Linked DNA regions of Homo sapiens: all the other regions are linked to region 3. The links are contacts of gene promoters, found by promoter capture Hi-C in human tissues and cell types (Jung and others, 2019). All regions are on one chromosome and are shown on one strand. Each heading gives the region's core, a stretch centred on a gene start or on the middle of the fragment in contact. The rest is flanking DNA. Distances are from core to core; before and after follow the strand shown.

Region 1 (6,820 bases), core at 1,770-4,269, 34 kb after region 3:
GCTCCAACACAAATAACTAGGTTGCCTTTCTAACAATTAAAGCCAATCATAAATGAAATGAGCTGCCTAGAAAAGTAATGATTTTCCAAGTACTGGACTTATTCCCAGCATATTCCTGAAGGCCACAGGGCAGGATTCCTGCAGAAAATACTCCTACTTCGATAGAAAGTTGGACCAGATGTTGAGTTCTTTCCAAATCTAAGGTTTATAGGCTGCTGGATCTCTGTGTAGACTGCAGGGGTGCTCTGTGATTCCCATGTACGTACATGGGTCCCTGAATATCAAAAGATAGGCAAGAAGGTACAGGGAACTTGAGTTGTCAGTCTATCCTCCTGATTTTATTACTGACGATGAATGAGATTCTGGAAATTACAAAATTTACCTAGATCAACTACTCCAGTTTATATCCTTTATCAGAAAGATTTCCTTTTTCTTACTTCTAAATCTCTTGGCCTGACTTTTAAGCCCATTTCTTCTGGCTTTATGCTCAGTGAATATGAAGATCAATCAATCATATCCCTCATTATACCAATTCATAAAACTAAAAATGTAGTGCATAAGGCTTCTTTTTTCTAAGCTGAGAAATTCCAGTTCATTTCCTGTTCTCCTTAAGCATCTTTTCAAGTGATCTTTTCCCCCAGGTTTCTCTAAAACTGAGCACAGAACTTATTATGACTCCTTGTTCTCTATAAGGGTCACATGTCTGGAAATTTGATTCTGTCATTTCTAAGTGTTTTCCAAATATGTTAAATAATAGTTGTTGGAACATTCATTAATAGTTGTTTTTTAAGTGCTGTATGGAAAAGTAAATTAGTAAAAAAAAAAAAAAAACCATTCCAGACTCAGTAAGGTTAATCAGACTTCTCAGAGCCCTCAATATGCATCATGAATCTCCTAGACCATGAAGAGTACATGTATGTAGCATCTCCCAAACCTACTGACACCAAGATCTCTTTTAGAGCATCTCAAAGGCTCAGTTGTTCCAAAAATATATATATGTATATATATTGGGAAGTGCTCCTCTATAAAACAATGCCTAAAACCCATATCCACCCCGCAGAATTCTGTATACTGAAAACCTCCTCCATCCCCGTGGCCAAGTCTTCCTCTCCTTTCCTATAGGAAATCTCCCCAGCCAGGCTACACTCAGTCTCGCCTTCCCTATACCACTAATGCTAGCCTTCTCCTTATCTCCAAGCCTGATCCTTTTCAAACTTCAATTTCAGTTTGAGCTGAAATGGTGTAATGGAGTAATTATGAGAGATGGAGGTGACCAGAATCTCAACAAAAGAAATCCCTTCAAGAGACAGATGAGACAGCAAAGAATAGAAAGGTTGCCTTGCCCAAGTCACACAGCCAAACGGGAAGTGCTGGGACTAAGATTCCTAGTTCAAGGCTCTTTATGCTGCTTCAGTGGGTGGATCTGCTGGCAGGAACTCACTGAAAAAGACATATTCCTGAGCCTCATTCTGAGCCTCACTCTAAGCCTCCTGAATCAGGCTCACTTGAAAGTCAATTTTTAAAAAAGATCATAAGAGATCCTGATATTCCACCAGGCTTGGGAACCACCATTCTATATAGCACCGTCTCCCAAAGTAGGGTCATATGTGTAGTCCAACCCAGCACCTGCTCCCAGTACTATTGAGTTGTTTGGATAAGTGAACTTATTTGAGCCTCTGTTTCTGTACTATAATGACTTGATTGGGCCAATAAACCTATAAGATCCCTTCCGGGAATTTGATTCTGTCATTTCCAAGTGCTACCTTAGTTATGCTCAGTGGTTACCCATCTATTCTGGCTGGAACTGTTCTCTCTAGTTTCTGAGGCTTTATAAAACTATTATTAAGGGCCAAATTATAACATGCTATATGATATAGCATCTTAGAATAATATTTTTGGAGTGTCTCCAACATGCCAGTTCTGCTACAAATGTTATTGCTAATGCTTGCAACAACTCTAAAGGTACGAATATCCCTATTTTAATATAAAGAAAAGAGGTATCTTTCATGTGAAATGGAAATTTCCAGGATCATACCACTTTTAAGCTGGATTTCTAAACCAGGTCAGCCTCATTCCAGATGCTGTGCTCTGTCCACAATGCCAGGCTGCTTTTGAATGTGAGTCATGTTTCCTCATTAAAAGCAAAAGCTCTCCTCATCATGGATCCCCTACAACACTAGCATCTAGCTGAGCATCAAGTAGCACTCAATAAATATTTGTTGACTTGATTAGTGGATTAGCTCTCTCCTTCTACCTGGAGCACAGACCACATCTTTTTGATGCGAAAACATGCTAAACCCCTAGACCATCTGCAAATTTTCCATTAGCTCAGAACAGAAAATTACAGCTGTGTAGACCGCACCTGTAGACTCAAGCTTAATTAATAGGTTTATCTTGGATTGAATGAGTTGCAGATACTGTACCTTAAGCCAAAGGCACTGGGGAACATGTTGATGTGGAGAGGGCATGTTTCACTTCTCTTGTTTCATACTATTAAAACCATGTTAATGAAAATGTATTATTACTTAGTAATAATAATAAAGATGAAAATCCTCCCCCTCCTGATCCCTTACAAATGTTGTTTTTCACTTTGAATCCCAAATCTCCAGAGAGAAGTAGGAGGGAGTGTCACAAATCCAGATAATGATCTTGGGTATTACACTGTTCATTTGGAGCTCTGATTTAGCTAAGCTGACAGATGTTGGGGAAAACATGTCTAGCCTGAAAACTCTCTGGTGGCTGCCCAGCTGTGGCTGCAAAGAGGAGTGAGGTTTTGCCAACAGAGCTTCACATTCATTTAAATTCAAGATTTGACATGCAGAATCACCCTGCTCTAAAGGTAGAAGTTGAAGTGTTGTGACATTAGGAACTGACTCCAGCCTGATGCTTTGGGGTACTGACTTCCATCTAACCACACAGCTCACTCTGAAATCCTTGAAATTACTATCGCTGATTATGTCCTGCTGTCTTGACAAAACCTGCCTTCATCATGACATGCTTACCATTACACCAGGAAAAAAGAAAAAAAAAAACCTTTGTGTTAACCACAATCATGTGACATTTCCTTTGTTCTCTCCCCAGAGTAGTTTTAGAAGAGGGGAATGTTTAATTCACCTTTAAATAATACCGATTTCCCAAGTGACAGTCTGAATTCATGTTATTTTTTCTTCCAAAATAAATAGGCAAGAGGCACCGCGGGAAAAGACGCACTCTAGAGAGACAAAAAAAACTTAAAGGGTGACCTTTGATGCCCTTGGACCTTAGTTTTCTCACCTGAACATTTTTTAAAGGGCATTTTGATCTCAAAGGAGAAAATCTGCTAATTAAATATAAGGCAGAAGGTCAGCTCCTTCTCAGTGAGCTGAGGGTGGTCAGCCCTCAGCTCAGCCTTCAGAGAGCAGAGGTAAGATGAAGACATTGCAAGAGTCTCGTCTCTGGGCTCTAAACCCCAAATCAACAAATGAAGCCTGGATTTCAGAAACCCATAGCACAATATTTACAGCACCTAAATGGCCAATGTGTTTTCTGAGAAGCAGAGGCTTCCTGTAATCTAGTATATGTGGCTTAGAGTTTGAGTGTTAATTTTTATCACACTAAAGGCTGCGGTAAGGCAAAAGTGAGGGAGGTGCTTGTAAATGCAGTTAAACTAATTCATAGAAGAAAAAAAAGACATCAATGGTTAATTTGTCACTGTAGATGATTTCTAACCACAGGTCTCTTAGAAATGCTGGTGTCCTAAACATGTTCTTGGAAACACTAGCCTCCTCACTCCTGAACCCCTCCCCAGCAAGTAAATAAATGCATTGGCAAATAGGATTTGAAAAGAGCATTTTAATAAAAGAGGAATGACTTAGAGGTCAATGAGCCAGTAGGACTGTGGGGAGACCACCAGCCCCCAGCCCCCACCCCTGGGTCATTACTGGGGCCTTGTGACTACCCTCTTGGGCTGCTATTTCCTTCTCACATTCTGGGCCCTAGCTATATTACAAATATTTTAAAAGTCATCCATCTCATTTAGATGACATTAGTAGACCATTGTACCAGCAGCAGTGCTTCTACAAGCTCATCAAAATTCACCTGTGTCTTGATACAAAAAAGGAGAACAAAAGTACTACTGCAGGGTCAATTATCCATGAGAATGCCCAGAATTTGCATTGCACCTTTATTCTAAAAGGGCTTCAAAATCATCAGGGGAAGGCATCTACCTCTGATATAGCTGTGCAGAATGTTTATAAGGTAAAGGAGAGAGAGCAAAATCTCTCCCTCCCTTTGTCTTTATGAACCAGGAAACAAAAGCTCCTAAGTGGAGAGAGTTTATGTATCATGTTCAAGGTCAACCAGCCCATTCTTCACTCCTTCATTCAACAAACATTCATGGGGCATCTTCTTTGTGCCAAGTTCCGAGAATAAAAGGATGATTAGAACTCTGTGTCCTTTCCCTCAGAGAGGCTCCCAGGCTTGCTGGATGAATAGATTTGTAAAGAGATTGTTATAGAGAGATAGTGAGGCAATAATTGAGATGTATATAAGGAAGCACCTATTTACCTGGAGAGGGACAAAATCCAGAGTAGAACCTAAATTTTAAAAAGCAAAACAAACCAAATACCAAGCCATCTCTCTCCCAGATGAGTGGTTCTCAGCTTTAGCCACACACTGGAATCACCTAGGGTGATTTTTCCAAGTACTGCTGCCCAGGCCTTTCCACAGATCAGTTGAGTCAAGCTCTCTGGTATGGGGAACCTAAACCTTTATGTTTATAAAAGTTTCTGTGACACAGTATCACTTGATAACTACCATATTATCTTAGGCCAAGGCCATCTCCCCCAAAGCCTGTAGGTTATGTAACAGTGCAACGTTACCTATCTCTTTATGTGTGTTCTATCTCACCTTCTAGATCATCAGCCCCTGCAGGATAGTAACCAGGGCTTTCAGCTCTTCTACACCCCATTCACTCCCCATGGAACCAAGCATACCATAGTTACTAGATAAATATTCAATAAACACATCTAACTCAATAAAGAAGATAACAAAAGGATGCTTGAACTTGTCCCTGAGTGTCTTAGTTCATAACTCAAAGGCTGAGGTTCTGCCAACACAATAATGAAGTATAACTGGTGGATTTAATTCAGCTGGATCAGAATGATGTGTATGATTACTTGCAATGACTTGATGATCAGCCACTATCTGCTAATGAGTTTTTCTCCTGGAAAAGTGTGAAACAAAAAGTGTTGCCCGAGAGAGCATGCTGCCATGTGTCAGAGGGCAAAGGCCCTCAATTCCAGTGAAATGGGATTTTTTTTTTTTTAATGAAGTTGATGGCCGCCAGCTCTTAGCTGACAGTCAATGCATATAGAGGGAAATGAATTCAGGCTTTTGTTGAATTAACTGCTGGCCTTGTAAAACAGAAGCAACAGGGAAGCTGCGCCATGTTTGGGGTCCACTAAATCAGTCAGAGGTTTCCAGCACTCAAGTCTCCCTGACAACTGTGTCTGGGATCCGAACAAACAGAGGCTGCCGGCGGAGGCCTACCTGGTGAGAAGCCGCTAGGTCAGCTGACCACACCAGCTCAGCTTCTCCTCTGCCCAAGACAGAGTGGAACTTTTCTGACTGAACTAAATCCTCCAAGCCTCATTAAATCACGCTTTAGTAGCACATTGTTCGGCCATCGCCGCTCCCAGCGTTGTATGTCAAACCTGACCCCTCACCGTCTAGGATAATAAAATGTTCTATGGTTTTGCTGGATGATTGCTCCACATCCCTTTTATTTTATTTTCAAAATGGCACGTAATAAATACCCTCGCAGAGGAAAGACTGATTTGATGGAAAACACTGCACTGGGTAGAGCCAAAAGCAATCAGGCTCACCCGGAAAACATAGCACAGCCGGTGGGAGTTCTGAAGCCATGTCATTTGCAAATGTTTCCTCGGCCATTCATGAAAACTACAACCGGCAGGATGTGGCTCTACGCCCCCAAATAAGTGGCCTGTGACTCAGTCAGTCCAGCTGATTTTGTCCCCCACATGGTCAGTCCCAGCCAGGCTACAATGACTAACCCTGAATTCAGCCAACACTATCTTGTAGACTATTAGATGGACACATAGATGGCATGTAAAGGAAGCACGGACACTCACGGTCACCACAGGAGGGCCAGGGAGCACGTTGTGATTCTCGGCACATCTATGCCTTCCCTCCAAAGCCTAATCGCATTGAGTCCCACCATTTCATTGTCTGATAGCACAACTGCCATTCCCTCTCAAAAACCCCAATTTAACTTATAAAGGAGGAACATGTTATCTATAATCAAGAACATATGGAAGTCTGATTCAACTTCAGTCTGATTTTTTTTGATAGCCCAATTCAATTATTTTAATAATGCATAGGCTTGGGTTTCAATCCAACCCAGTTCAGTCGACTTTTAGAAAATGAAAACTTTGATGCCTTTTTGTAAAAATTAGCATTCGACTTTGGTTTTAGGTTCCTGAATTGGCATGATAGATTCCATTTTGGCTGTGGAGCTTCAGTTAAGTGCTTTGTTATAGTCAGACTCATTATCTTGGATATCAACATGCTTGTGAATTGTATCCTCAATAGCATGATCACTGGCAGTAGGTTCTGCATATAATTTAGCAAAGAGTTAGCATCACTTCCCAATTTAAGAGTTACAAGTGGATATTTCTATGCCTATGTATTCAATTCAGGTGTATTTAAATACTTTTTACTATTACCATTTAGAACTGTGAGGCCATCCTTAAGATAACTTGGAGACATATGGTTTATCCAGAGAACTGTCTATTTTGCTTCCTAGCATTAAATGCAAATA
Region 2 (7,075 bases), core at 3,046-5,545, 52 kb before region 3:
TTGATTTTAATGTCTGTTTAGATTTACCACCATTTATTCCCTTTGCTTCTTGCATCTCACTTCTTCCTTCAGAATACTTTTTTATTCAAACTAAAGTTTATCATTTAGTAATTGTTTTGATGACAGCAATCCATTAATATTACTATGAGCAGTAAATTTTCTACGTTCTAGTAGGCCTAAAATATTTTTATCTTACCTTCATTCTTCTATTTAATGTTTCAAATCAGTAAAACAAGCACATGATACATTTCCAAGAAGTGCAAAACATCCTCAGTCTTAAATGTTAGGCTGATTCAGCTGGGTGTGGTGGCTCACACCTGTAATCCCAGCACTTTGGGAGGCTGAGGCGAGTGGATCACCTGAGGTCAGGAGTTTGAGACCAGCCTGGCCAACATGGTGAAACCCCCTCTCTACTAAAAATACAAAAATTAGCCAGGCATGGTGGCAGGTGCCTGTAATTTTAGCTACTCAGGAGGCTGAAGCAGGAGAATCACTTGAACCTGGGAGGTGGAGGTTGCAGTGAGCTGAGATCATGCCACTGCACTTCAGGCTGGGCGACCATCTCAAAAAAAAAGAAAAAGTGAATGAATTAATGAATAAATACATACAAACATACATACATACATAAGTGTTAGGTTGACTCATTATAAATTTCTAGCAATCCAAATATTTGCCCTGGTAACTTTGAAAATATACCCACTACCTTAGGACAACCATTGCTGCTGCAGAGAAGTATGCTGCCACTCCTACTGTGAGATTACAGTTACCCTCTTTATTTTTCTCTTTGTTGGCTTTTAGGATTTCTCATTATAACTGCTATTCTGCACTTGCACTATTAAGTGTCTAGATGTGGAATTCATGTATGTATCTATCTAGCTCTAATTTTTCTACTTCTTAGTCTTCCAATTGGCCAATTTTACAGTTGCTCTGCCAAAGCACTATGAGCTTAACCAGCCCCAGACCAGTTTTTAAGTTAGTTCATGGCCTCAGAGTTCTTGTGTCACACAGGCAGCACACATTTGGGCCCTAAACCTGTGCAAGGCAGTCCTGGAACTGAGGTGCAGTCCTGGAACTGAGGCACAGTCCTGGAACTGAGACCCAGCCATGGTAAGATTATTTCCAACCCTTGTCTGAGGCAGAAGCTTGCTTCAGGCTATAACCTCTGTCTAGTGGACAATGGTTTTTTTTTTCCTCCCTGTAAAAAAAGGGGGGAGAGGGGAAACACATTTCTAGCCCAAAGCCTCATACAAGGAATCCAGTTTCTGAGTCTACCCTGACCCAGAGCTTATAAATTTAACTTTGTCCCCACAGTAATGTTGAAAACATAGCTGCTAATGCCTGTGTTGACTTCAGGCCTCCCTTGAGCAAGTTGACTTTGTCTCCTACTCATTACTTTGGGTTCCCCTTTTGTTTTTAGCATTGGAGAACTCCCTTCTTGCTTTGAGGTGTGACTTTTTAAATTTTTTTAACTGTCTTGCCTAGCATTTCTATGAATTTAGGTTGGGAAGCATATTTCAGTGTGTTCAATCTACTCTCTTTTCCAGGAAATTCCTTAGTACTTATTACCAATGTTGGAAACCTCAGAATCACACAAGATTCCTCCCTGTCTCTCAATCAGTTACAAACTCTTATTTATTCTATTCCTCAAGCTCTTTCAATTTTATAGCCTCTTTTCTAAGTCACCTTTACGGCTGCCAAAGCCAGTTCCTTAGTTTAGGCTGTTAGCTTTCTGACCTGAAAGCTTTCTTTTTAGTAACAAATCCTGGAGTGTGCTTTAACAAGGAAGATAGCATTCCTGTCCATCTCCCAACTGTTTTCCTCGATCCCTTCCAGTCCAGTTTGTACGGTGACACTAAATTGAGATATCTCTTTGAAATATATTTTTCTCGTTATAAGAGTTTATTATTCAATAAATAGTGTTGGGACATTATTTAGGCTTTTGGGAAAAAAACTTAGTTTCCAAGATCACACTATGTGCAAAAACAAACTCTTTTATGTTCTAGAAACTATAAAAGCAATAAAAAATATATAATTTTGAAATTATTCTAGTCTAGGAAATTCTTTCTTAAGCAGGAGGCAATACCTAGAAATCATAAAAGAAACTGTCAGATTTACTTTATATAAATTTTAAATTTCCTAATAGTAAAAGTCAAAATAAAGTCAGAAGAAAAGTGTCATATTGAAAGAAATTATTAAGTATTAATTATTAAAATGACAGAGTATTTACCATTCAAATTATATAACAAACTTCTACAAGTTAATGAGATAAATATGAAAGTCTCAATTTTAAAAATAGAGAAGCGATAAGAACTGGCAATTTACAATAATAAATAAAAATAGGCAACGTTCACAGGAAAGATTCTCAACCTCATTTAAAATAAGGAAAAAGAATATTTTTAAAATTTAAGCCCAACAAATTCAAAGAAATTTAAAATATTGATAATTTCATTCTTTGAAAAACAAGTACAAGAGTACATAACTGAATCTATTTTAGAAGTCATTTTTGACTACATTTTCAAGATTTTAAATGCTATACTCTTTGATCAAAAAATATACTTCTAGAAATCTTAAAGAAATATTTGTGTATGGGCACAAAAATGTATAGACAAAATATCTTTGAAGTAATTCTTATAAAAACACTTTTATTTAAAGAGGGAGTGGCTAAAATAAACTGTTTCATCCATTCTATGGAATACTATGAAACCGTTATAAAGAATAAGATACCCGTATGTGAAAGGCTTCCAGAACATTGTTATTGTGAAAAATATCACCAAAGACAGACACAGCATGATTGTATTTGTGTTTTTTAATTAACAAATTTGAATCACAATGTGTGTATACAAATGTGTGTATATGTGTGTGTATATGCAAGCATGTATATGTGTGTGTCCGTGTATACATACCCACAGATGCATAGAAAGATCAATGAGGGACTGAACAATAAAGCATACCTATTGGGAGGGGATGTAAGTTGATGGGGAGAGTAATAAGAAAAGCTCAAAATTTCTCCATATATTTCTAAATTTTTTAATCTTTTTAATAAAAATATAATTACACAACATTTATATAACATTTTCAAAAACGAAAGTTGAATGACAATTTTGAACGCACCAAAAATGACAAGGAGAATTAATATCATTTACAATCCCATCGTGACCTTTCATAAATGAAAATCTCATCTCTGTGCAGTGATCAATGACTCCCCATTCCCTCCCAGATAAATGGCAAGTACTTTAGCCTGTAGTGCTTATATCCCTGTCTCCTTCCTAGCTTCATATCCTATTCTCCCCAAACTTGCAACCTAACATCTGACCAGGACTTGAAATATCCTGAATACACGTGCTATTTCTTCTGCCTGAAATACAATCTTCTACCTTTGTCTGGCTAGCATACTCTTGTTCGCCCTTTATTCCCCTTTCTGTTTCAACATGAAGGTATTTTTGTTAAGGCTTTTCTCTCACACTATTAGGTTATCTCCTCTGCAATGCCATCAACAGTTGAGAGAAGGGATGCCTCGGTGCCTGTTGCTCCTCACCTACCTTCCCAATCACTAGCAAGAGAACTGGCTCACAGTAGGCCACACGCCAAATGATGAATAGAGAAACACAAAAATATAAGGACTCAGCAGCAGCTGCAGCAGTGGAGACTCAGCTCAAAAAGCACTGCATTGGACTACCATGGAACTTGACTGGGTTTCATGGCTTTCTCAAGCAACACCTCACACCTGGACAGCAGAAGTGGGGAAAGGGAGAAAATGCACCAGGGAAGGTTGTCGACAAAGTGAGCAAAGGACAAGGATCACCATTCACTCTGCAATGGTGCTGAGCACATGGTTAAGCGGCGTTGCAGCTGGCCAGAGAGCCAGAGCTGAAGCAGAAGCCTGGGGGGCTGAGGTGGAGGTAGGCTTAAAGGCAAAATGTTTCAGAGTATTTTTTCCCAAAGTAAGCAAATCGGTATTTATTCAGGGGAGGAAAGTCTTCCATGATCAAATGTTTGGGAAACACTGAATAAAGATGGAGATAATTCTTATTAGTATGATATCTCAGAGACTTGAGTTTGGTAAAGTGTTCCATTAAGAATCTTCAAAAGCAGGGTGCTGTACCAGTTTTTACCAAATGTACTTGACATCATGTATTAGTTTGCTAGGACCACTGTAACAAAGCACCACAAACAGGGTGGTTTAAACAATAGAAATTTATTGTCTCCCAGCTTTGGAGGCTGGAAGACCAAGATCAAGGTGTCAGGAGGGTTGGTTCCTTCTGACTGTAAGGGAGAATCTGTTTTCCTGCCTTCCCCAGCTTCTGGGGGTTTGCTGGCAATCTTTGGCCTTCTTTGGCTTGTAGATTCCCCCGATCTCTGCCTCATGTCCATATGGTGTTCTCCCTGTGTGGGTGTCTATCTCCACATTTCCTTTATAATAAGGACACCACTTATACTGGATTAGGGGCCTTCTCTACTCCAGTATGACCTCATCTTAACTGGACTAATTGCACCTGCAACAACCCTATTTCCAAAGAAAATCACATTCTGACGTACTAGGCATTAGGATTTCAACATATGAATTTGGAAGGGACACATTTCAACCCAAAACACACAGTAACCGTTTGGCATAAAACATGTAGCAGAACTGGTATCCACTGAGCTCAGTTTTGGTAAGATCTGCCAAAATAGATTGTGTCACAAGGTTCAGCCAATTGAGAGCTAAAGATAGGGGCTCATTCACTGAGTCCCTAGAATGTACCAGGCAACCCAAGAAAGGTAATATTGTATGGAAATTTTACAAATGAGAAAACAGATTCTGATCATTCAACACACTAGCTAAAAGTGACCAGGCTGCGATTCAACTCAAGGTCTGTCTCACTACCAAATCACCTCTGTCTCTCCACTCCAACTCACTGCTTCCCAAAAGAATATAAGCGTCATTAAAACAAGATCCTTGTTGTGGAAATAATGGGGTTATTTTTCCACCCCTCACTAATGCCTAATCCATACTGAAAAGCGGATGAGATTTGAAACAAAGCAAAGCCAGTGAGGCTTTCTTCTCATCATGGAAATAAATCTGTTTAATACATATGAAGCACTCCTGGTTAAATGTTTACCTTTTGAACCCTACACTGAAGGAAATGGTTTCTTGAAGCTCTGGCTAATCTTTTAGCAAACTGTCAAACTAAAAACTTGGGTGCTTCTTGATGGGGATTTTAACTGCACTATTGATTATAGTGCAGCTAGAAACCATTTTCAGGCTTATCTTCATATGATTTAATTGACACTGAGACGTGTTTTAATTGAAACGTTAGACTTCCTCAGTAGAACTACCCTTTGTTTCTAGCAAGGCAATCTAGCTTTTATGTTTTTAATCGCCATCTGTTGTTCAATAAATGTCAAATCGTTCCTAATGGTCTCTCTAAGCATAGGGTTGTTTTTTTTTAATTTGCTTTTGTACTCAGTGTTCGTTATGGGCAAATGAGTCCTTGCCGTAAAAGACCGACATTTCTCATGGTGCTCCAGTCCCGTTAGAAGGAAAAAGTGATTAGAAATAAAGAGACAAGAGAAATGTTGCTGCTTTTTTTTTTAATTCTTCTCAGCAGTGGAGAGATTTAGAAAGTCTATAAAAATGTTTCCTCTCAGCAGTGCTAGTGATTTTAATCCTATTCAAAGCATTTCTTAAAAAATACAGAGACCTCCAAAAATCTTTGAGTCATTTGAATTGTCTCAAATGATAGAGACTAATATATAGCAGAGGGTTAGTAGAGAGAAATCCACTAGACACAGCCAAGTTCAAGATGTACCAAGGAGCTCTTGACTTTATAAGGCAACAGAGATAGCTTTTTAAGTCTGTGACTATTTTGTAGGAACAAAGCAAGACTGATGCAAGAACCCCATAATTCAAGTTCCGCCATGGACTCTGATCTGATTCACCTCACTCTCCAGAGGTGGAGGAAGAAGATGGACACTAACTTCAGACAATGCTTAGTAAAGGGAAGGAAGGAGAGGGCTTCCCCAGGGAGATACAGAAAATGATAGCAAGAGACACAAGAGTGTTTTGCTCTTCCTCATTAGTTTTCTGACACAAAACATTCTCCATGAAATGTCCTCTTCCAACATTAAGTAACCAAATGACACCAGCTCTCTGGAGCCCTGGAGAGCCCTATAGATGATTATGTGGCTCTTGGGAAACGGGAGGGGGTGTTTGTGGAGATTTGTGTGTATATTAGGTCACAATCAGCTTTCTAACCAAGAAGTATGCTTGATTGCATGGTTCAGGGTTTACAATATTCTTCAAGGGCTGGGAGAAGTATATTCTAAAAGGTAATTAGAATTGGTTGAAATACAGAGCTATAAATGGGTGACTGGCGAGATTTTACAAGAAACAGATCATAACTCAACATTCTAATGACTTTTTCTTTGGAGAAGGTCAGCAAAGCTATTAACAAGGGAAGTGGGCATGCAGAGTTCTCCATCCCAGACTGTGACTGAACTTTGAACAAATCCTTCATCAGAATTCTGACTCTAATTATCTGGACTGGCTGCCTTTCCTCAAAAGCAAACACGAAGAAGGACTAAATGGGCAGCTGGGCTTCCGATGGCCCTTCTGCACTTTTCTAGTTCTCTTTCCCCAAAGGAACAAGAATAAAGATGTGGATGAGTTCATTTTTTCAGGTACTATGGCCAAAAATCAGTGCCATGATGTAAAGCTTTGGGAAACCTAATGACTAGGAGTACGTAGGGATAGCCTCTCTGAAGTGAAAGACAAGTTTTGCAAAACAGTAAGTTGTTATAAACATTAAAGTCCCCCAGACCTGGGTAGAATTTCCCACACTAAGCAGGGAAGATAAGGCTTCATAACAGTTTCTCTATCAACCTGTCCCCAGCCTGAGACATGGGTGAACACACCAACATGGACCATAGGCCACAATGGAATTTAGAAGGAGGACTCAACCCCAGTGCTCCAAGTTGAGAACATGAGGCTGGATAACTTCCAAATAAGCCAGACTTCCCCGTTACCACCTTGTGTTCTTTGTGTTTACGTCAACTATACTGGTCATTAAGTTTAAACTATGGTCAGAGAATATGT
Region 3 (7,544 bases), core at 1,329-3,828:
AAGATTCAAGGTATAAAATAATGGTACTCAACATTTTCAAAGTACAGAAAATGATATGTTTGGAACTTACTCAATGACAGTTATAAAAGGGTTTTCTACCACCTTCCAAAGAGCTCATCAAGCTGACAGCCAGCCCCAGAAAATTAGGTTGATAGTGAAATTGACTCCTAGTCCAGTATAAAAAAAAAGTTGGAGTTGTGATACTGACTCACCAGGGAGAGATAAGTAAAAAGGAAAATTAAAACCTCTAAGTCCAATTTAACTACCATGTCTCATCTACTTTTAAATATCTGTCTTTTTACCAGACAATAGGCATTCTGGATTTCTCTGTTTCTTGATCTGTATTTTATTTTCTATTATTATAGTTGATAATCTTACCCAAATGCTGGTTTCTGACTGGTGATGGAGCTTCATAATAAATTATTATTGTTAACCTCAGTCCAAAAAAGAGTGCTAGACAATTCTGATCATCCCCAGAAATCATTGAGTATCACAGAATAAACTTATGTAACTGATTTCTGACTGCAAAGAATCCTTGTGCCTACTTATGATTCCCAAGCCTCCCTCCTCTAACTAAAAAATAAGCAATTTTCATCTATACTCCTTGGAAATATAGAAACCTATATGTACAGACATGGTGAAGAGAATGGACAGACTAATTTTGAGCTATATAACTTGCTAGCTTAGTGACTTAAAACTAATGACTTCACCTTGATAAGCCTTAGTTTTCACATCTCTAAAATGGGACCATTAATTGTACCTACCTCTTAGGGTTAAATAAGATAATACAGGCCAGGTGCGGTGGCTCATGCCTGTAATCCCAGCACTTTGGGAGGCTGAGGCAGGCAGATCATGAGGTCAGGAGTTCGAGACCAGCCTGACCAACATGGTGAAACTCCATCTCTACTAAAAATACAAAAATTAGCCAGGCGTGGTGGCGGGTGCCTGTAATCCCAGCTACTCAGGAGGCTGAGGTGGGACAATCGCTTGAACCTGGTAGGCGGAGGTTGCAGTGAGCCGAGATCGTGCCACTGCACTCCAGCCTGGGTGACAGAATGAGACTCTGTCTCAAAAAACAAACAAACAACAACAACAACAAAAAGATATATATTATGTACTTAACCTAGTCCTGGCATTTATTAGACACACAGTAAATGTTATTGCTGCTGTTTCTATCTAGGCCCTATCCAAATCATTTGTTAATTATCACATTTTTATTATCTGTAATTTCTGATGGTCAAAATAAAACAAATAAAAGTCTTTTCCTCCCCCTTCTCCCATTTGCCCTTCCATTCAAGCATGATAATGTAAGCAGCTACCTGACCTGTGAGGAAAGATCCTAGAGGCTTAGAGAGAGAAGCTTTGGCCCAGATAAGACTCCCCCACCCCAAGTTATACCTTAGCAAAAATAGCCTAGGAGGTTTGCAGAGTGGGGTTCCCGCAGAAAGGCCCAGAGTGAAATGAATAACTGCTTCTTACCTCCTAACCTCTCATGCCCTCCAGCCCATTCTCCTTTCTTTAAAGGAGATCCAAAGAGGACTCATCCCCCACGGAACTGGCTTACTATGCCTTCAATGCACTTAGCCTAGCTGTACCAGCCTCGTTGTAATGCATGACTTTTGGTTTTGTTTGTTTGTTGCTACTGTTGTTTGGAGCTGGAAATGGTCCTGAAGATTCCCTGTAAAGAAGACTGCAAAGAGTGAACACTCCCCTAGGCGAATGTCCACTGGTAATAACACTTTGCTAAAGACCAGTAACTCCCCCCTTATTTCTGACACCCACCTCCTTTATAAACCAGGCCAAGAGAAATGGTCAGGGCTTCAACTAGGGCACTGCGGCTCTCACTCCCTCGAGGGCTACTGTTCACCATTCCGGGATCCTGCCAGGCAGCAAAACAACTGGACAAACTTCCCAGAGCTGCAACTCACAGAGTCTTTCCCTAACAGTTCCCATCTTGGACTATATATTAGAATCACCTGGGGAGAGGTTTTTTAAAATATTTGATTTGTATACATCTATGTAGGATTTTTTTAAGTACAGAACCCAGGCATCTGTACTTTTAGAGTCCCCCCGGCCACCCATTCTAATGTGCAGCCAGATTTGAGAATTCCTCTAAAGCATAGATATTCCCAAAAGTCCCAGCTGGAGAACTGCGATATCGTCTCTCTTGCTAACAATTTAATTATTTTACTGAGGCTTTAATTCATTTCCGGGGCACCTATAGTTAACAAAATGAGTCGTAAATCTTTTAGAGTGCCCAGGTCTAGCCATCCATGAAATTGTATTCAGGTACCCAAAAGCAAATGGAAGGGAATGAATGCAGCTCATTCAGATTCTGGGGCCTCCTCACCTGGGACACAGAACCTCCGCTGCCTAAGCTGCGGCTGGAGCTGGAGCCCGACCTGGAGCTGGAGCTGAAGCTGGAGCTGGAGTCAACACCTGGGAAAGAGCTGAAGCCGGGGCTGGGAATTGGAGGTCCCACATCCCCCAAATCCCCTGCAGCTTGGCCAAGGAAGAACAGAAGGGCTAGGAGAAATGAGAGGCCGGGCCTCATCTTGTCCTCTTAGCTGGAGCCGCTGGCTCTGCAGAGAGCCCAGGGGCTTCTTATAGTGCCCAGTGGTGATTTCCCCATGGCCAGCATGTAGGAAAAGAGGGAGTGGCCAGGGAACGTGTGAACTGCCCCAGGAGGTTCAGGACACCCAGGAATCTGAGTCATGGCCCACACCTTGTCAGTGAGGCCCACTCTGTGAGCTGCCCTTGGATCCAGATATCCCCTGCCAAACATTAACTCAAATGTGCTTTGTAAAGCCCAATATTTGGTTTCCCACTTGGTACTTCCTTGAAAGAGATGAGACCAAAGTAGTCTTTGTGGATGACACAGAGTTTGGAGGCTCCATGGAGGAAAAGCAACCCTCAGTCCTTTGCCTCACAGCACTTCTAGTGCTCTCCCCCATTTTACTGAATACTACTTTTCACAGACAGTTAGGGAACTTGCCTTAGGGACTGTGGCTCTCCTCCAGGAGCGACTGAGCTTCCCTCTTCAGTTCCTATTGCCCAAGTTGTCGTTGACCTGTTCCTTACAGTGACTGTTTCTAGACAAAGTTGTCTAACAACCCCACTCTGAAGGAAAGACCAGCAACGTTTTGTTCCCTGGCCAACCAGGTAGGACTCTGCCCTATCAAGTACTCACCACTGTATGCTTCATATAGGGAAGAGAAAACACCCAAATAAACAAAGGGATCCCGATGACCCAGTGCCCGCTCTCCCAGGCCAGGGCACTGCCTCAAACCCAGTCAAGGAGGACCCCAGGAGCAGTTTCTCTCTCCAGAAAACTTTGACCTCTATTGCCCCTGAGCTTCTTGTGAGCCAGCCAGGCATTCAAGATCTCAAGCTTATTCTTCATAAAACTGAGAAATAAGATGCATTTTCTCTTGCTCAGCAGCTCTGACCCTGGGCTCCAGGATCCATTTGCCCTGCTCAACATTTCACACACCTTTGTGACCTCTGCCTTCTTCCCTGGAGAAAGAAAAAGGTGTTAGTCTCGGTATTAAGACCCAGCTCTGGGCCGGGGATGCTGGCTCGCACCTGTAATCCCAGCACTTTGGGAGGCCAAGGTGGGAGGATGGCTTGAGCTCAAGAGTTGGAGACCATCCTGGGCAATGTGGTGAGACCCTGTCTCTACAAAAAATGAAAAAAATAGCCAAGTGTGGCGGTATGCACCTGTGGTCCCAGCTACTTGGGAAGCTGAGGTGGGAGGATCACCTGAGCCTGGGAGGTTGCGGCTGTAGTGAGCCATGTTCACACCACTGCACTGCAGCATGGGTGACAGAGTAAGGCTGTCTCAAAAGAACAAAAACAAACAAAAAAGCTGTGTCACAATGAGTCGGTGGCCTTGAGCATGTCACTTAGCCCCTCTAGGGTTGTAACAATTCCTAAATTGTTTGAATTAAATGAAATATTGTATGGGAAGTTGCTTATGACTTTTGACGTGCCATAAAAATGTCAGCTTTTTCATTGTTTGTTTAATTTCCTAAAGACTAGATCAATATGTAAGATTGCTGGGTTCAAAACAAGGAGAGAAGGTTCATGCCCCACTCCACCCCACCCCAGAAGCTCCACACAAACTCTCAGAATAAGCACAGTGCTAATGTGAGAAACAGGGTCTTAAACCCCTGGTACACTATTCAGAAACTGGGGTGGTGGGGAGGGGGAAGGGGAGACAGGAAAACCACAAATGGATGGATAGAGAGTGAAGAAGAACAGATAGGGAGAAATGTGGGCTGTAAAGTTCATTGTTCTCTGTGGGAAGCAGTTCAGCCTTGGCCTCTTTGGTCAAATGTTCTAACCACTTAGATCCCCAGTCCAAGGCAGGGAATGCATACAGAATGTGTGAGAATGAAAACTGGGAGACTGAATCCATTATTCTAAGATTGAATGCAATGAATATGGACATAAGGAGAAGAATGTGTCTCTACCTCCCAGCACAATTCCCCTCTTCCTCCCGATTCCCACCAAAACAAATGGCAAATCTGTTCTCATTTGCTAGTAGCCTCTGCATGTGGCTGTAATGAGCCTTCCTTGTACCTTTTTTCAAGGAGCATGTTGGTGCCCTGTCAGAAAGAAAATCTCATTAACAGTGGTATAGCCTGTAGTCATGACTACCTTTAAGGTCTCCTATGGCCAATTCATTAGAAGACCCCTTACCAGAGGGGTGGCAATACTGCAGAAATGGGACAGCAGTTCTCCCAAGCACAAATGTGCCTTAGCCAGGGAAGAACCACCACCCACTGTGCTCATAAGCTTCTTTGTTCTTGTATGGCTCCAGAGTTTCCAGAATAAAACTTTAATCTATTTGGTAGCCCTCAAATGCACAAAAGCATTGGTGATGCCTCCGTAATGAGATTATTAATAATAATGAGATTATTAATAAAAATAGTTTGATCAGTTTCCCTGCAAATACCTTTGTCCTAAGAAACAAGCAGCCTCCTGGTTGTATGACAGACTCAAAGACAGGAACAAAATTATCAGAGCTGCAAAGCAAAGTGTATTATTTGTAAAAATGTGTTCTACCCTGGGCTCCTTCTAGAGTAAGGGGTCACCGAAATTCACATGAGTAATACAGCAATCTTCACTGACAGTTTGAAAGAAAGTTACTATTTATGCACTTCATTAGGGGACCTCCCCAAACCGTACTTCTTGAACAGTTGCAACACACAAGGAAGACATCCGTGTAGACATAACTTTAATTTAATCCTCCTGTCATTAAAAATCAAACATACTGCTGCATTTTTGCAGGAGGGTATCTATGGGGTATCTGGTGTATATGAGGAAAACAGAGGCTGTGTTTGGTCTACAGATTGGTAATAGAGGCTTTTCATATCAGTTGACTACATCGTCAACAACCCTCAAATTTCTATTAGCAATATCAACAATCGTGTATATAAGTAATAATCAGCTGACCCCATTTATTTACCCTGGAAAGTGGTCCCTCAGTTAACAGTGTGTGTTAGAGCCTACTCTGTGCAGAACATCAGGCCCTATGATGATAAGGAAAGAAGAATGCATAATTTTTTCTAATGAAAATGCCTAGTCACTTACGGAAGGCAGGCCACTTCAGGGAATATACTAGGAATAAACACAAATTGAACACAAAACCAGTTAAATGAATACTGAGAAATGACTGGATAGACTCCAGAGACCCAAGATGGGTTGAAGTGTGAAGAATTTGCCAGGTGCTGAGCTTCTTAGGGATGGAGACCATGGCTTCATTGGTTTTCAATCTCCAGCACCTAGCCCAGTGCTTGGCATTTGGTGTCTAATAAACGTTTGTACACTGAGGAATATATTTAATAAATGAATGCATGCATGCATGAATGAGTGGATTGATTTAATAAGAATTGTGAAGGAAATTCTTAAATAACTATTGGAGAAAATACTTATTTTTTTAAAAATTAGTGTTGAAGAAAAGGGAGTGATTTCCAAGCAAGAGAAATTGTACAAGTTAAAGAACATAGGCAACTCAAATTCTCTCCAGGGTCATGATTATGCCCTTGTACCTACAATCTCATGTAGCCCACTCTAGCAACTCATACTTGGATTCGAGTTCTTAAGGTTATTCCTCAGCCTGACCTGAACACCAAATCAACATTCTCACTCCCTAAGCCTATCCTATATCAAGAACTACCTAAATTTTGCCATGTTATTGTGGTTTAGAAGATCAAAACCCCCAATTACAGAATTTTCAGCCAAATACTTATGTTTTCAATCTGCAGCAAAATCATTCCTGTTGACAAAATGCAGAACCAAACTAGTAAAAATGGCAACTAATGGAAAACAGGGCAAACTTCTACGCAAATGCAGAAAGGCAACAACTGAAGTGTTGAAAGGTAGCATGTACTAATTTGGGGGGAAAAAGAGAAGCTTTACACCCTCCACAGAGAAAGTTTGGACTAATGAGCCATAACAGTGCCCAGAAGCCTTTCCCCACCACCATCACAAGGGGTGAATGGACTCAGGAGACACCAAACTTCAGGTTTATCTCTGGACCCTACTAGATGGAATCTGCCCAGAGACCTAGAACCAGACTGCCCTCTAAATTCCTCTTGCCATCTCCCGACTAAGCATTGAAGCACACCTTCACTTCACCTCAACATCAGTACCTGGGTTTTTCATATCCCATACCTCTTGGATATTGTAAATCACCCACGGGTTCCTCCAAGGCCAGGTCAGTTGGTTTCTGCAGCTAGAGGCAAAGAGCGTACTTGCCTTGCTCATCTGTCCCAATACAGAAGCCTTTGCCTGCCTCCCATCCAAACCACCTGAGCTACAGCACCTGGGTTCTGAGTGACAACTGTTGTCTCCATAGTTAGTTGCACATGTCTAACCTCCTACACCTCTAACTGTGAGAAAGAGGCAAACTCTTCCTGCACCTATGGGACACTGTCACCCGGAAATTTTAAGTACGACCACTGCAGCGATTTGAAGCATTTTCAAATTTAGTCATACCTTCTATTTTTCTGTTGCTGTTACTTCCCTGCCCGAATATTCTCAGTCTCTGTGTTATGGACTGAATGTTTGTGTCTGCAAAATTCAAGGTTGAAATCTTAAGCCCTAAGTGATGGAATCAGGAGGTAGGGCCTTTGGAAGGTGATTAGCTCATGAGGGTGGAGCCCTTGTAAGGGAATTGGTGCTCTTATGAAAAGAATCCCAGGCAGCTTTTTTTGTCCTCTTTCCTCCATGTGAAGAAAAGCCGATACAGTCTGTAACCTGGAAGAAGCCCCTCACTAGAACTTGGCCATGTCGACATCCTGATCTCAGAATTCCATGTTCCAGAACTATCTGAAATAAAATTGTGTTGTTAATAAACTATGGCATTTTGTGACAGGAGCCCAAACTAAGATACCAGGCAAATGCTAAACCCCAGCTGGGTGTCAGAATTCTGCACTTAATACTTCGGGGCAAGTCAATGGAGTGAGAAGGGCAAAGAGTCCAAAGAGTCCAAATTACTAAGCAAAACTATTAAATCTACCAAATTCCTAGCTGAG
Region 4 (7,122 bases), core at 435-2,934, 33 kb before region 3:
GGTCCCAAAGGATCCCCAAACCAGAGACATTTCCAACTGTCCTAGACGCAGCCCAGGAGAGGAAGGAAGAGGAAACTGACTCCTGATTGACCAAGGATATTAGTTAGGAATTTGACTACCCCTTTCACAAAAACAGCCCAGTAGGAAACCTTGGCCTGTGCAGCTTTGGGGAATGAGCTTTACAAAGCGAAGCGCTGCTCCTTTTTGCAAAGCAACTTGGCAGTATGGATTAAGATTCTGACAAGTGTTTGTATTTTGACCCAATAATGTACTTAATCTATCCTAAGAACATGATGAAAAGTGCAGACAAAGATTTATATTCTCAGAAGTTTATAAAGCCAAAAAATAAAATAGGGAAAACAAAGTAACTTGCAATAATAGGGAAATGATTAAATAAATTATGATATGTCTATGGAATAATTTGTAGACATTAAAAATCACTTTTACTCAATGAGATAAAACCTAAAGATTTGAGGGCCCTGTACTCATTAGCTACTGCCACAATAAAGTTGCACAATTACCTCCTCCCCTCAAAAATCATGATTTTTAAAAATAAGGGAAGTTGTCCACGAAAGAATTTTAAATGAAAAAAGCAGCCTACTAAATTATACATACATTAGGAACTCATAGCTGACTAAAATATACATACATTAGGATAGGAGCATGTGTCTGTAATTATATCTTCTGTCAGTCTGTACATAATGGGAAGAGAAGCAGTCTCTAAGACTAAGGCAGACTTTATTTCCTTCTTCATATCTGTGTGAGCTCCCCAATTTTTCTGTGATACATGTGTATTAACAAATATTTACTGAAGACTTGGTATTTACCAGGTGCGGTACTAAGAACTTTACATATATATCACCTCCACTTAATCCTCATTGCGACTACAAAATAAGCACAATCATCACAACCATTTTACAACTGAGGAAATAGAGGCTTAGGTTATTTGCTCAAAGTCACCTATCCGGTGACTTTGAAGCCAAACTTGAAGTCAGACCCAAGGAGCCCCAATTCCTCTATACTTAGTTACGACATTAACTCTCCCCGATGATCAGTATGTATGTATGTGTGTACTGCTTTCAATTCAAAATTGCCCTTTCTTTACAAAGGAGTACAGAGTGTTTAATAGAGAAAAGCATGAGCTTCAGGAGCTAGACTATGGTTTTCTGCCAAGTAATTCACCATTTATGCTAATGCCACTCAATACCAAAGACACCAACTTCTTTATGGTGGGAGGAATGTGGATATAAAGGTCAAAGAAAACTACTTTCCATTGCTAGTAATTAGCTAATTAAGTAAAATATGTTAAGTAGTTAACACTAGAACTAGTAATTAGAGTTTGCAAGTAGAATAAGAACAAATAAGAATGTGTTTTTTACTTTGAAATAAAATGAAATGAGAAAAATCCACCCATTTTCCCCTTGGGAAGCCTAAGCCTGTTTCTTTGATAGGCAGAGCAAGGAAGGGGAAGCACACTGATGCCCACCCAGGCTCCTGATCCAGCCCAGCCTGGCCACCTGTCAGCTGTGTGAAAACCTTGGGTAGGTCACTTAGCCTCTCTGGGTCTCAATTTCCTTATCTATGGAGCAAAGGGGTGAGTCTAGATGATGTTTTGGTTCATTTCTAGCTCTGATTATCTCTGCTTTTATGCTTCTGTGACAAAATCAATATACTGGATAAACCCATATCTGAAAAGGCTAGTCGACTATCAGGCACAGGAATCTAGCATTTTGCACGGTCCTTCTCCTGTAAAAAGCAGGGTCCCCGCCCTTCTCCCCAGCCTGGAAGCCCCAACTGAGATCCCATGTCTTAGCCAAAGCTTTCTGCAATAGAGCAACCAAAATAGGGGTGCAACTAAGGAGAAAAAAGTGGAGTCAGGGAGGGTAGAGAATAGGGTACCCTAGGGATTGCCAGAGTAATTCCCACCAGGCTTCTTTTTTGGAACTGCAAAGAGCATTGCATTCTGGTTCCTTTTTCCCCACTCTTCACAAGCACGATCTGTGAGCCTAAGGGTTCATCATTCTAGAAATTGCCAAGCTAATTTATAAAGTGAGAAAAAGAAGTTATTTTCTGTGATGTAGCATGATTTCTCCCCGATAATGCAGGCTCTGGGCTGGCAGTGCCTGGCTTGCTTCTCCTCTACACCAATTGATATTCTGCTCACAGCGTTGCACACAGGAGAGTCAAGGCCAAACCCAGAGGATGCACAATAGTAACAGGCCAAGAGCAGGCTGTTTTCTGGGAGACAGATCCTGTTACCCTCTTGTTGTTTGGGGATAGCAAGAAGTAGAAAGAGGAGCAGGCCTTCAGCAGTGTCTGAAAGACAAACACCCGTGCTAAATCACTACAGGATCTACCTGCAGGAACTTCAAGGAATCAAAACATAACTCTGAGCTGCATGGTTTCCGGTAAACAAAACACTCCCTGTTCTTTACCCAACTGTATTCCTCTGTTCAGCAGCCATACAATTGCCATTTCGTAAGCCGGGAGCCAGGCCATGCTAGGCCCTACGGAATATATGAAGTTGGATGAGTGGGGCTAGACCTGGATGCTGCCTGTAATAGGTATAAAAACTGAAACTAAATAAAAGGTTGACTGTGGGCATACTCCCTTGGCGAGAAGACAGCACATTTTTCTCTTGTGTAAGCCTCCCCCTGCTGCGCTTAAAGGTTCTTAAGTACTAGAACTGGAAGACAGGATGAGGATAAATTGGAAACTAACGTTTATTGACCATCCTATGAGGCAGACACGGTGCTAAAAACTGGAATATATTATATCAGTTAACCCTCACAACTACCACATTTCATAGTAAAGGAAACTGAGACTCAGAGTGTTTAAGAAATTTGACCAAGGTAACACAGCTCATAAATTGTGGAGCTGGGAGGATTTGAACTCAGGTTTGATTGCCTCCAAAATCAGATCTATTTACACTATGTCATACTATCAGCTCACCCATATGTTGAGTGCCTGCTTTGTGTGTGTGTGTGTGTATGTGTGCATGCGTATGCATGCATGTGTGTGTACACATATCTCCAAAGTCCCTCTTCTACAGAGAGGCCAGGACGAGTGATCACCCTTCACTTTGCTGGTGCTGGAAGCAGATATGACTTTGTCCTCCCCCTACTTTGAGTACCTCCATCACACAATACCCCTACTGTCTAGACAGTGGGCAAGAACCCACTGGGCATCTACACTACCACACAGCCACATCTTCAGCATATTGTACCCCAAAAAAGTTCCATTCAGCCCACGGGCCACAAGTAGACTAGCCTGCCATGCCATTTTCCAAAGCCTTGTCCCTGCTGCCAGGCCTGCGGCTTTAGTGCTAAGCAGTGATCACAGCCAGCATCGGGGGCCTGAGGAGGAATCAGGGACCCACAGACAACGTGTTCCATTTCAATCTGCATTTTTGGTGCAGTTTGATGTATTTTAGGCTTGCCTTGGTTTTTTTTTTTTTCCACTTGATTCATGTTTCTATTTGTCACTGAATTGCTATGTGAAGGTAGAAGCATGTGTCTCCTTGCAGCTTCCCCAAAACCAGACCAAAAGCAAGGAAGAGAGAAACAAGTGACAAAACAAATATCCTTTTTCTATGAGGTGCCTATAAATAGCGTGATTATAGGATTTATTGTTCAAATTGGAAGCCTTCTGGGAGTAAAAGGTGCTCACTATTAATAATTATACCAGGACAACAAGCATGAACAGAGTGAGGCAAGGTCTCACTGTTGCCCAGGCTAGAGTGCAGTGGTGTGATCTTGGCTCACTGCAGCCTTGACCTCCTGGGCTCAAGCAATCCTATCACTTCAGCCTCATGAGTAGCTGGGACTACAGGCATACACCACCATGCCAGGCTAATTGTTGTTGTTGTTGTTGTTGTTGTATTCTTTATAGAGATTTGGTTTTGCCATGTTGCCCAATCTGGTCTTCAACTCCTGGACTCAAGTGATCCGCCCGCCTCTGCCTCCCAAAGTGCTGGGATTACAGACATGAACCACTGCACCCGACCTGCTGTTGTTAATACTCATGAAAAACAAGGGGAAATAAAAGAGTTTTTTCTTGAGAAGGGGTGGAGAAAGGAGGCCCAGCAAAGGTAGGAAAAGGTGTCTCTCCAACCTTTCTGTCTCATTTTCCTTTCCCTTAAACTGTCCAGATGTTCCTCATCAATACCAAGCTCCACTTTCCTCAAAGTCTTTATGCTCCTCATTATTCAAACTTTTCAGGCAAGTTTTAAAAAGCATTCTGAATAAATTCTCTTTGCCAAAGATATTTGCATTTTAACTGTGAACAAATCTCTGAGGCAAAGGAATGGCTCTCAGCAGCCACGGAATCGGAATTGTACACCAGGTGGGCAGAGGCTGCCTCCGTTCTCTTGTGAGGCCCCTTCATAATGAAAAAGCACCTCCCCCTTCTTCACTTTGCCAGAGGGCTTAAAAGGAATAACCTGGCACTCATGCGAATTGAATCCCTGGGATTAACTGGCTCACAGCTTTATCGATACAAGGTTGATGAGAGACAGACGCCGGAGGTGCATGATTGCCAAGCTGGCACTCTCACCTGTGCAGGAGAGGGCCACAGGACGCACAACTCTGCGATGCCTCACGGATGTTGGGGGCCCACTCCAGAATCCCCTATTTCAGTACGACAAAAATGAAGTTTCTCCCCGTCGGCAATGATGGCAGCCATGCAGACCAGAGCTCTGCTGCTGGCCCAATCTGCAGCCAAATGACAGCAGAGCGGCACTGAGAGAGAGCTTCCAGGGTACTTCTTGATTGGGTGCAGAGTCAGAGTCTACTAATGGCCATTTAAATACCAGTCCCATTATCTGCTTCGCTATAGAACTACCCACCAGATGTGTAACAACCATAGTTACTGGTCTGTTTGCAGCTGGTTATACCTTCTCTGGGCTCATGCCCTATTCATTTAAATGGCTGTTTCTCCATCTGCTTAAATGAGAGAACCATGATACAGCCCCAGGACATGTTCCCTCACACACACCCACAAGATGCCCAGTGCAGGAGAAGGAGGGAGAACAGTGTCATGGTCAGATGACTGCAACCATCTGAGTTTTATGAAAAACAACATTTAAAAAGAACAACTATCCTATTGCCTCCAGAGTATTTTATTTTTCTGCTGGGAGAAGAAAAGCTCTCTGAATGTTTTATTCAGCAGGAACTAGAACACTGTTATTACAAACTTTCTTTCCCAAACTAATTCCCTGAGCTTATGCTGCCAGAATTCCTCCTCTCCAGGGCAGTTCTGCCTTCACTCATTGACTTCTCAGATCCTGCTAGAAAATCTGCCACCCAGGCTCCAGCAAGCAACAGATCATCTCAGTGGGGCTGTAAAACTCAGTGTAGTGCAGCTCCACCAAGAATCGTTCTGAGAAAACTGATGAACTGCGTGGTATCATTTGAAAGAATAAGAAAACTACCATAACTTGTCAGGATGCTCTTCAGGTGGAGATGAGGGACTGTGGAAGACCCCAGGGTCCCCCTCTGCACTGTCACCTCCCAAGAGCAGTAACCTGTTGGCCAAATAACCCCATAATTCTTCCTGGGAAAAGTTTCAGCCAGTATTTCAGGGATGATGAACAGGAGAAAATAGGGGGTATGGGATATTCCAAATTCTGGAAGCTTCTGGGTGGTTCTGATACAGGAGATAGAAATTATTTAGGCAGATAGGATAAAAGAGCCTTTGGCAGAATTTTCCTTTTAACAAAAAAAGCAACCCCAAAATCATTTCTTTTCTAACAAAGAGCAGCCTGAAAAATCGAGCTGTAGACATAGATAAGCAAGCTGGAAACCTGCACAGGGGAATGCCGGCAGCTGTGCCAATAGAAAAGGACTACCTGAGGGCCAGGTATGTTCAACATGGAGGCTCCATCTTCCTTTTCTTTGTCACCATGTGCACAGTAAAGAAACAGGCAACATGGTGCTGGCCAGGTAGAGAACCCATCTGCATAATAAAAGATTAGGCCAGCTTTCCACACCCTATGCAAATGGCACACGTGGTCCAACCAATCTTTCATGCCCTATGTAAATCAGACACTGCCTCCTCAAGCTCATCTATAAAATCCACTGCTTTTCACTGCAGAAGTAGAAAACCTGCTTGGGACCCCTCTCTCTGCAGGAGAGAGCTTTTCTCTTTCTTTCACCTATTACATCTCCACCCTTAACCTCACTTCTTGTGTGTCCACATCCTTGATTTCCTCGGTGTGAGACAGCGAACCTTGGGTATTGCCCCAGACAACAAAACCACTTCAGTTCTACCCAGAAACAGAAGAGATTCTTACCCAGAGACAAAAAAGAATTGAGGGGCCTGAAGCTCTCCTAGGACACTGATGGATCACCGGAGAGAAATTCGCCACGTGGTGCCATGTGACTCTGATGAAGTCTCGGGGAGGGGCTATAAATTGTAAAGCCCAGCTCCTCTTCAAAAGTTCATTTGGGGCCAGGTGCAGTGGCTCATACCCATAATCCCAGCATGAACCACTGAGCCCAGGAGGCTGAGGTGGGAGGATTGCCTGAGGTCAGGAGTTCAAGACCAGCCTGGCCAACATGACAAAACCCTGCCTCGCCTAAAAATACAAAAAAAAAAAATTAGCCAAGTATGGAGGCACATGCCTGCAATCCCAGCTACTCAGGAGGCTGAGGCAGGAGAATTGTTTGAACCTTGGAGGCGGAAGTTGCTGTGAGCCGAGATCGCACCACTGCACTTCAGTCTGGGTGACAGAGCAAGAATCCATCTGAAAAAAAAAAAAAAAGTTTGTTTGAAAGGTTTACTGTTGGAGGAGAAACTCTCCCCCATTATGGTGGTATCAGGCTAAGCTACCACTGGAGTGTGAGCATTATAAAATAAAATAGTGACAAATGACCAGGGGATACATTAGGTGCTAAAAGAAGCAATCACCAAGCAGCAGCAATGATGAAAACAGGGGTTACTGAATGAAGTTGTTGTGCCAGGTATTGTCTATTGGCACTGGCATCAATTTTCAACCTTTCCTCTCATTTTCACTGTGTCACAGGGGAAGAAAGATTAAAACTACATTTCCCAGGCTCCTCTGTAGACACAGTTCAGGGTGATTTTAGATTCAGTCCATGAGATCCACTTACATTAGATTTG

What was found. The method cuts DNA at HindIII sites, captures the fragments that hold promoters and counts their contacts. A contact is called where the count stands out against the background at its distance.
Region 1: a fragment that was not itself captured here is called in contact with the fragment with the promoter of OLFM4 in region 3 in 5 of the 25 tissues and cell types used here (dorsolateral prefrontal cortex, heart right ventricle, mesendoderm cells and 2 more).
Region 2: a contact is called between a fragment that was not itself captured here and the fragment with the promoter of OLFM4 in region 3, in 4 of the 25 tissues and cell types used here (H1 embryonic stem cells, aorta, dorsolateral prefrontal cortex and 1 more).
Region 4: a fragment that was not itself captured here is called in contact with the fragment with the promoter of OLFM4 in region 3 in 1 of the 25 tissues and cell types used here (spleen).

What each region holds. Positions count from the first base shown.
Region 1 is chr13:52,990,994-52,997,813 of GRCh38, reverse strand. No RefSeq gene overlaps it. Among named protein-coding and RNA genes, the nearest start is that of OLFM4, 34 kb to the left of the region's middle. The HindIII fragment of the contact is 3,771 bases long and covers 1,134-4,904 here.
Region 2 is chr13:53,078,203-53,085,277 of GRCh38, reverse strand. No RefSeq gene overlaps it. Among named protein-coding and RNA genes, the nearest start is that of OLFM4, 53 kb to the right of the region's middle. The HindIII fragment of the contact is 5,706 bases long and covers 1,443-7,075 here.
Region 3 is chr13:53,023,847-53,031,390 of GRCh38, reverse strand. OLFM4 (olfactomedin 4) reads right to left here and starts at 2,578. Exons shown (of 5, transcript NM_006418.5): 1 at 2,351-2,578. The coding sequence starts at 2,554. The HindIII fragment of the contact is 5,150 bases long and covers 1-4,096 here.
Region 4 is chr13:53,056,357-53,063,478 of GRCh38, reverse strand. No RefSeq gene overlaps it. Among named protein-coding and RNA genes, the nearest start is that of OLFM4, 31 kb to the right of the region's middle. The HindIII fragment of the contact is 4,084 bases long and covers 1-3,726 here.